Regions from separate parts of the Homo sapiens genome. Here all the other regions are linked to region 2. The links are contacts of gene promoters, found by promoter capture Hi-C in blood cells and fetal thymus (Javierre and others, 2016). All regions are on one chromosome and are shown on one strand. The core of a region is centred on a gene start or on the middle of the fragment in contact, and the rest is flanking DNA. Distances in the headings are between cores, read along the strand shown.

Region 1 (2,700 bases), core at 156-2,655, 300 kb before region 2:
TAAATTGGGATTTGAATAAAGATCATCAGTTCACTCATTGATTCAACAAATATGTTTGGAGTGCCTACCTTGTTAGATCTATCTCTTGTCTGTACCTGAACAATTCTACTGTCCCATCAATAAATAAGTGGTTTGTGTCTACCTAATTTCTTAAGGAATGAGAAGGCTGGGCTTTATATCCCCATATCATCAGTCACTGGATGTGAGCTACCTTGAGTGGGGTGGGAAACCTTGGATGAGGTGGCCTACATAAGCTGAGGCATTTCCTGAAAGAGACTGACAGCTGAGGGCCAACTGTCAGCCATACTCCCAGCAACTGAGACTATATATATTTTTTGGGTGGGGGGCGGGTGTCAGGATTTTGCTCTGTCACCCAGGCTGGCATGCAGTGGCAAGGTCATAGCTCACTGCAACCTTGAACTCCTGGGTTCAAGGGATCCTCCCCGATCAGCCTTCAGAGCTGCTGGGACTACAGACACATGCCATTGCACTCAGCTATTTAAAAACAAAAATTCGTAGATATGGGATCTGGCTTTGTTGCTCAGGCGGGTCTCAAACTCCTTGGCTCAATTGATCCCCTGCTCCAGCTTCCCAAAATGCTGGGATTACAGGCATCTGCCACTATGCCTGACCTGCTCTTCATTTTTAAAGTGGGATCTGATTGATAAATCACAGTGTTTGCCACAAACTTCATGATAGATCCCAAGAGAGAACTACTCAACTAAGCCTAGTCAACCCACAGAAATATGAGAAGTAGCAATAAATTGTTATATGTAAGGCTGAGAGGGAGGGCAGTGGTACTAAACATCTATCTGTGAATACCAGAACAGAAGATAGAACAACTGAGCTTTAGGACACCTTGACATTAAGAGGTTAGGGAGAAGAGTAGGAGCCAGCTGGAAGACTGAGAAGGAGCAACCAGTAAAGTAGGGGATAAAGAAGTTAGGCCAGGCATGGTGGCTTATGCCTATAATCCTAGCACTTTGGGAGGCTGGGGCAGGTGGGTTATTTGAGGTCAGGAGTTTGAGACCAGCCTGGTCAACATGGTGAAACCCCGTCTCTACTAAAAATACAAAAATTAGCTGGGCGGTAATGGCGTATGCCTGTAATCCCAGTTACTCGGGAGGCTGAGGCAGGAGAATCGCTTGAGCCTGGGAGGCAGAGGTTGCGGTGAACCGAGATCATGCCACTGAACTCCAGTCTGGGCAAGAGAGTGAGACCCTGTCTCAAAAAACAAACAAAACAAACAAACAAAAGAAGTTGGATGTGTCAGACTTGGACCTGTCGACCCTCAACCTATTCCTCATCTTTTCCCCACTGTGGTCTGTTCTGCAGTGGATTGACACCTGCAGGCTGCTTTTCCAAGACTCTCCTGTTAGCTGGTTTCCAGCTGGGATTAGTTTACTGAGGGCAGTGACTAGAAATAGGAGAGAAAAAGCAAAGGATAAACCAGGGGCTATATCCCCCTCTCTGGTATAGTATCTCTAATAGTAGTTGTATCTCTTCCCTGGCTCCAGCTTCTGCCAGCCAAACCATGCATAGTTCCAGCTTCTGATGAGTCACCCCAGCCCATGGACTCTGCTACCAGCTTCTCTCGTCTTTATTCCTCCAGCCCAAGTTGGTATTGTGTTTCTGCTGTTGCCAATGTCTGCCTCACTATGTCCCATTTGGCTTTTTAGCTCTTTTGTCATCTGTGTCCTCAAGACCCTGCATTAAGTTCCCTCTGGTCAAATACTAAGAATAGTTTCTGGGTTTGTTGTTGTTGTTGTTGTTTTTTGAGATGGGCTCTCACTCTGTCACCCAGGCTGGAGTGTAGTGGTTCAATGACACGATCTCAGCTCACTGCAACCTCCGCCTCTCAGGTTCAAGCAATCCTCCTGCCTCGGCCTCCCAAGTAGCTAGGACTACAGGTGCCCGCCACCATGCCTGGCTAATTTTTGTATTTTTAATAGACAGAGGGTTTCACCATGTTGCCCAGGCTGGTCTGGAACTCCTGACCTCAGGTGATTCACCTGCCTCGGCCTCCCAAAGTGCTGGGATTACAGGCATGAGCCACCACGAGCAGCAGTTTCCATTTTCTTGATTAGGTCTTGAAAACCAAGTGAAGGAAGTATATCCAGGAAGAACATGTAATTAACTATGCCAAATGCTATTAAGAGGTTGAGAGCTGAGAATTGATTATTGGATTTAACAAAATGGAGGTCATTGATGACATGATCGAAGCAGCTTCAATGGAGTGGTGAGCAAGTGTAGGACAGATTAGATTAATCAGGAATTGCCTCTAGAGCTGCTTTAGGGCCAATTGCCCAAAGGACTGACACAGAGAAAACAGAATGAACATGGGAAGAATGTGGGAAAATAACCACAACATCCACTCCCACCAGGAGGGAGGCAGAGACTAGGGTCACAAGAGGAAATTCATTTAGGTGGAAAGAGCTGGAGATCAAAGCCAGAGCCTTGTAGTGAATGAACTCAAGGACTTAGGTACATGACAGAAACACATGCCAAAGCAGAGAGTTAAAACTGTTTCAAAGAAATTCAGAAACTGTGGTTAAAGCACCAGAAAACTCAGAATCCTTTTAGGGAACAGTGACTTTCTGCTTTCCAAACTTCATTTTGGTCATTGGACAAACCAATTAATAGTGTAATTGTGGGCAAGTTTATTGCAAAAAGTCAGTATAAGCTGATAAAATATGTTTA
Region 2 (2,700 bases), core at 94-2,593:
AGATGTGAAGAGGACAGCTACCATCCATGAAAATGAAAATCCAAAGCATATGAAATGTAAAAGGAGGAGAAATTTGTCTTGCAGGGACACAGGGAGTTTTCAGAGTCTACCCTGACCTGGCCGATTATCAGATTATTAACTGGGAAATAGTTCCCTAATACCAACCTTTCATCTTTGGCCTGTAATTTGGGGGTTGTCAACAGGTAAGCTTCTCTAACCACCAAGCCTCCCTAGATAAAGAGGTGTGGTCTTCTAGGATTGGAAAACATAGGAGGTGATGCAAGAAAGTTGCAACTTTTGATTAAACATTTTAGGTTTCATTGTCACAGAATGTGCATAGACACAACTTATTTTGTTTGCATTTGAAAAACAGAACTTCTTAGTTTAAGAAATATTTTAAAAATAGGGGGCAAAAACATGAAAAATGCCCAAGTTAATAACACTCTCAGTTAACAATTGTTTATATTTGGTCATCTTTATATCATCATTTTTATTTTTAAAGCATTTTAGGGAAATATTATTTCCACCTTAATCCTAAAGTCCAATTGATTTCCCTTTCACACTTTCCAAAGACAGCCACAATCACGGATGTGATAAACATTTTACAGTCCCCCTTCTATGATTTTACAAACATGACAAGTGTCTTAAAATAAGTCACCTAAATGGCATGAGAGAGTGGATATATTTTGCATCTTGCTGTGTCTATCTGCCATCATACTTCTGAAATCTAGGTACAGGCATGCTGATCCCTACAGCTCTGATTTTAGCTTTTTAAGTGCTGCATAGCAGTCCGTTGTGTGAATACACCACATTTTATTTTTTAAGTCCTGGGGGAAAAAGTCCTTGTGGAGATGAAGCAATCATCAAAGGCAGCTAGGTTTTGCTTGTTTAGATGCTGGAGAACAAGCAGAAACACCTCCACTCACTTGTCTCAACCCAGCAAATATTTATTGAAGTCTGTCTGGGTCTGCACATGAGTCAGTGCCAGGCAGGGGAACCTGGATGGAGTGCAAAATAGCTGGAATTGGCCCTAGCCTGCATTTAGTTTTGTGAGTTATCTTGATCAGCAGCCTTTGTCTTCTCTTCTCCTTGCACTTCCTAGCTTCCCAACAGTACCCTTAGTATGCAGGTTTATTGTTATTATTCGTTAAATCTAGACCACCACTCACCTAGTCTCGATTCTTCCTTCATTCCTCCCATGAGGCTCGGAGCGATGCTTTCATCCAGGGAACAGGGACTAAGAGAAGAACTCCAAGAGCAAGGAGCAAGAAAAGGCACCTATCTGCCCGGAAGCGGCGGAGGCTGCGAGCGCCGGGCTGGGCTGGGCTGGGCTGCGCTGGACTGAGCTGGGCTGGGCTGGGGAGGCACCTGCGGCTGCCAAGGGGTCCGAGCGCCGCCCAGCGCACAGCTACCCCGGAGGGGCGGCTCCTTGGCCAGGGAAGGAGGCGGGATCTGCTTGCCAGCGGGCGTCTCCGCTTAGCGCTCTCTCCAGAAACCGCTGGGCAGTCTCCTGGGTGAGCGCCAGACGCCTGGGGTCCGTTTGCCGCCTGCTGAGACTAGACAAGGACCCCGGGAGGGCGACGTTGGGGGAGAGGGCTACGGATGGAGGTCCCGCCGCGCTTGGGCCGGGTCCGGAGCCACCAGGACGCACAGCGGGTACTATTACGCCCCATATCACGGGAACTGCCTCACCCCCCCTGCGATGTGGATCGTAATAGCCGGGGGGGGGGGGGGGGGAGAAGGGGGGTGCTATTACTCTCCATATCGCCGGGGGTGCCTCACCCCCCTGCGATGTGGATCCTAAAAGCCGGGGGGTTGAGGGGGAGAGGGCGGTGCTATTACTCCTCATATCGCGGGGGAAGCCTCACTCCCCTGCGATGTGGATCGTAATAGTCGGGGGGGAAAGGGGGACGCTATTAATCCCCATATGGCAGGAGGGTGCCTCACACCCCAGCGATGTGGCTCGTAGTAGCCAGGGAGGGAGGGGGGGTCCTATTACTCCCCATATGGCGGGGTGTGCCTCACCCTCTTGCTATATGGGAATTAATAGCATTCTCTCCCCTCTTGGACATTAGAAACAATTTCACAGTGTGTGTGTACACAGCCTGCGATATTGAAACTAACAGCATCCTATCCACCTCCGGTTATTAGGAACAATATCACAAAATGGTGTACACTCTTTGCGAGACTTGGAGTTCTATCGTGCTGTGTTTCCCTGAATATTCGTAGAAATGTGACAGCGTGGGTGTACACCCACTACTATATTGGGAGTAACTTCGTACTCCACCCCCTGGAAATTAGGAGAAATATCACGGAAGGGGTGTAAAGCCACTGCGATATTTGAAATAATATCATGCCCTCACCCACTAGTTATTAGGAACAATATCACAGGACGGTGTATACCTTCTACAGTATTGGGAGTAATATCATCATCTCTTTCTTTAGATATTAGGAACAATATCAAAGGGGGTTGCACACCCAGTGTATTATTGGAAGTAATATCATTCTCTCTTCTTCTAGATTTTAGGAATCATATCACAGGCAGGGTGTACCACCCTTATTATATTAAAAGTAATGTTATCTCCTTTCGACCTGGATATTAAGAACAATAAGAAATGCGTTCTGTACATCCTTTGAATATTGGTAGTAATACCATCTTTTCCCTTCCTGGATTTAAGAAACAATATGACTTGTGGGGTG
Region 3 (2,700 bases), core at 194-2,693, 360 kb before region 2:
TTACATGGATAAGGAAAGTCTAAGATGAATCAGTTTATGCCAGTTAGTAATTCCTTTTTGTGTAAATATATCCATTAGCTTTATCCAGTCATATATAAATTGTTTCCCTATTTGTCTCACAAATTGTACTAATAAAGCATAGGGTAGGAGTTATGTTTTATTCATCTTTGTATCTTTAGTGTCTATAACAGTGCCTTATCTATCCTAGGTGCAGAATAAATTTCAGATTGACAGATGAACTGAGAGGCAGATGGATGAATGAATAGCTGGGAAAATGAATATGAAAGCAGATTTGGGATATGTTAGATCAGAACCATGAATAGAGTTGTCGTATCTTTCAAAGATAACTCATATTCAATTTGTTTTTTTATATACCATTTGAAGACTACCTTAAAGAATGCATTGACAAAGGAAAGAGGACATAAACAAATATATTATCCCCTCCTCCACAGCTGAAGTAGCCCACTAACTGGGCTCAGTGCTTCCACTATAGACATTCTTATAACTCATTCTCCACACAGCAGTTAGAGTGAGTTTTAGAAAGGCAAACCTTACCTTGACCCCCATCCTAGGAAAATATCACTGTGTTAGGATCAAGTTCCTTCAACCAATCTATTGATAACAAGTTAAAAAAAAAAAAAGATCAAATTTGAATTTTTTAACTTGGCCAACAAAGCCCTGCATGGTCTAACCACACGGGCAATCTCTCAGGCTTCCTGTTGCTCCAGTTTCCCTTAATGAACCATGTGCCTTCCTGCCTTCCACAGGGTTTGCCCAAGCTGACTTGGTGCACAGAATGCTTCCCTTCTGCTTTAACTAGTAAACACCTACTACTCACCTATCCTTCGGATCTCAGTTCAGTTGTGATTCCCACAAGGGCATCTTTCTTGACTTCCTTTCTGAACAAATTTTACATACATTGGGGAAATATATATATAAATACACATTTTTTTAATTAATGTCACTCTTTCTCATTGTAAATAAGCTTGATGCAGATAATGACCATATAATTTTGTTCAACCTTGTATACCAAATACCTAGCACATAACCAACAGTGTCTAGCACATAGTCAACAATCAATAAATACTTTTAAAATAATATTAATGATATTTCAATAAGGAAGGAGAGTACAACTTGCTTTACAGTTCAAAAGGTACATTTATATTTATTATTTTATGTAATACTTACAACAATTCTGCATAATGGAGACCATTATAACTCTCTGTCTTAGTCCATTTGTGCTATTATAACAAAATACCTGAGACTAGGTAATTTATGAGTAATAGTAATGTATTGCTCACCACTCTGGAGGCTGGAAATTGAAGATCGAGGCACCAGCAGGTTTGGTGTCTGGTGAGGGCCTGGTGTCTACTTCCAAGATGGCGCCTTGTTGTTGCATCCCCTGGAGGGGGCAAAGCTGTGTCACAGGACAGAAGGAACAGAGGGGCAAAAGAGCCTAAGTTAGTTCTCTCCAGCTCTTTCATAAGGCACTAATCCCTCATCCATTCTGCACTCATGGCCTAATAACCTCCTAAAAGCCTCACCTGTTAATACTCTTGCACTGGGGATTAACTTTCAGCATGAATTTTGGAGGGGACAAAAACATTCAAAATATAGCACTCTCCAAACGTTAATTTTCTAATATAAAAAATTAGCAAGTAATAGCACCCATTATTTTTCTGAGGATTGAGTAATATTATACAGGTAAAGCAACTAGTTTAGTAGTTGGCACATAGAAAGGCTCATTAAAGGTCAAGTCTGTAGACATACCAAGCATTCTGTCTTGAATCATGCCTTTCAAGATGTGCTTCCATCTTCTGGGACCACATTTCCCACATCACCATTAAATGGTTGATACCCATTCATCCTTCCCGTCTCAGTGGAAAATCAGGGAAGCTTTCCCTGATCCTCCAGCTTCAGTTACATTTCATACAATATTATTATGTCTTCCCTACCAGGATTTTTATGGACCAATTATTTAATAATCTTCAGTCTCAGTGTACTCATCTGTATTGTGGAGGTAATATTAATAGCTACCATTTATTGAATACTTTATGACAAATTGCATATAAAGGGTGAGGAGTGGAAGGTGTCAGAGATGGCCCTTGTGTTCCTAGATGGTGTAACTGGTTAAACGGTGGTGCCCTTACAGATGCTACAACCACAAGTCAGAAGCCACATCACCGTACTCAAGACTTGGAGTTTGTGGCATTAGCTGGGCACAGTGGCTCTGTAATCACAGCATTTTGAGAGGCTGAGGCAGGTGGATCACTTGAGCCCAGGAGTTTAAGACCAGCCTGGGAAACATGGTGAAATCCCATCTCTACAAAAGTACAAAAACTAGCTGGGTATGGGGGCACATACCTGTAGTACCAGCTACTTGGGAGGCTGAAGTGCAAGGATGGCTTAAGCCCCAGAGGTCGATGCTGCAGTGAGACAAGATTGCACCACTGTACTCCATCCTGAGCAACAAAGCAAGACCCTGTATCAAAAAGAAAAAAAAAGAATTTGTAGCATGCAGTAAAGTCTCAAAAATGATAGTGGCAATTGCTGTTTTCCACAGATGAGGAAACTAAATTGTAGCACTGTTATGCAACCTGTTAAAAAGAACTCCTGTTACCCACTGGGTAACTGCAATAACTCAGAATGCTAATTTGAATAAATCTGGCTTCACTATAGAAATAATAGTTCCTTTTACAA

The links. Contacts are between HindIII fragments. The CHiCAGO score rates a contact against its expected background, and 5 or more counts as called.
Region 1: a fragment that was not itself captured here is called in contact with the fragment with the promoter of STK32A in region 2 in 3 of 17 cell types (M2 macrophages, M1 macrophages and M0 macrophages); the score reaches 5.7 in M2 macrophages.
Region 3: a contact is called between a fragment that was not itself captured here and the fragment with the promoter of STK32A in region 2, in 1 of 17 cell types (endothelial precursors). The highest score is 10.0, in endothelial precursors.

The regions. Positions count from the first base shown.
Region 1 is chr5:147,538,111-147,540,810 of GRCh38, reverse strand. No RefSeq gene overlaps it. Among named protein-coding and RNA genes, the nearest start is that of JAKMIP2-AS1, 21 kb to the left of the region's middle. The HindIII fragment of the contact is 4,823 bases long and covers 1-2,700 here.
Region 2 is chr5:147,233,669-147,236,368 of GRCh38, reverse strand. STK32A (serine/threonine kinase 32A) reads right to left here and starts at 1,343. Exons shown (of 13, transcript NM_001112724.2): 1 at 1,170-1,343. STK32A-AS1 (STK32A antisense RNA 1) reads left to right here and starts at 1,510. Exons shown (of 4, transcript NR_147190.1): 1 at 1,510-1,656. The HindIII fragment of the contact is 14,744 bases long and covers 211-2,700 here.
Region 3 is chr5:147,594,142-147,596,841 of GRCh38, reverse strand. All of the region lies in intron 21 of JAKMIP2 (janus kinase and microtubule interacting protein 2), which reads left to right. JAKMIP2-AS1 (JAKMIP2 antisense RNA 1) reads right to left here. Exons shown (of 4, transcript NR_038902.1): 2 at 2,365-2,482; 3 at 1,302-1,402. Among named protein-coding and RNA genes, the nearest start is that of JAKMIP2-AS1, 35 kb to the right of the region's middle. The HindIII fragment of the contact is 911 bases long and covers 988-1,898 here.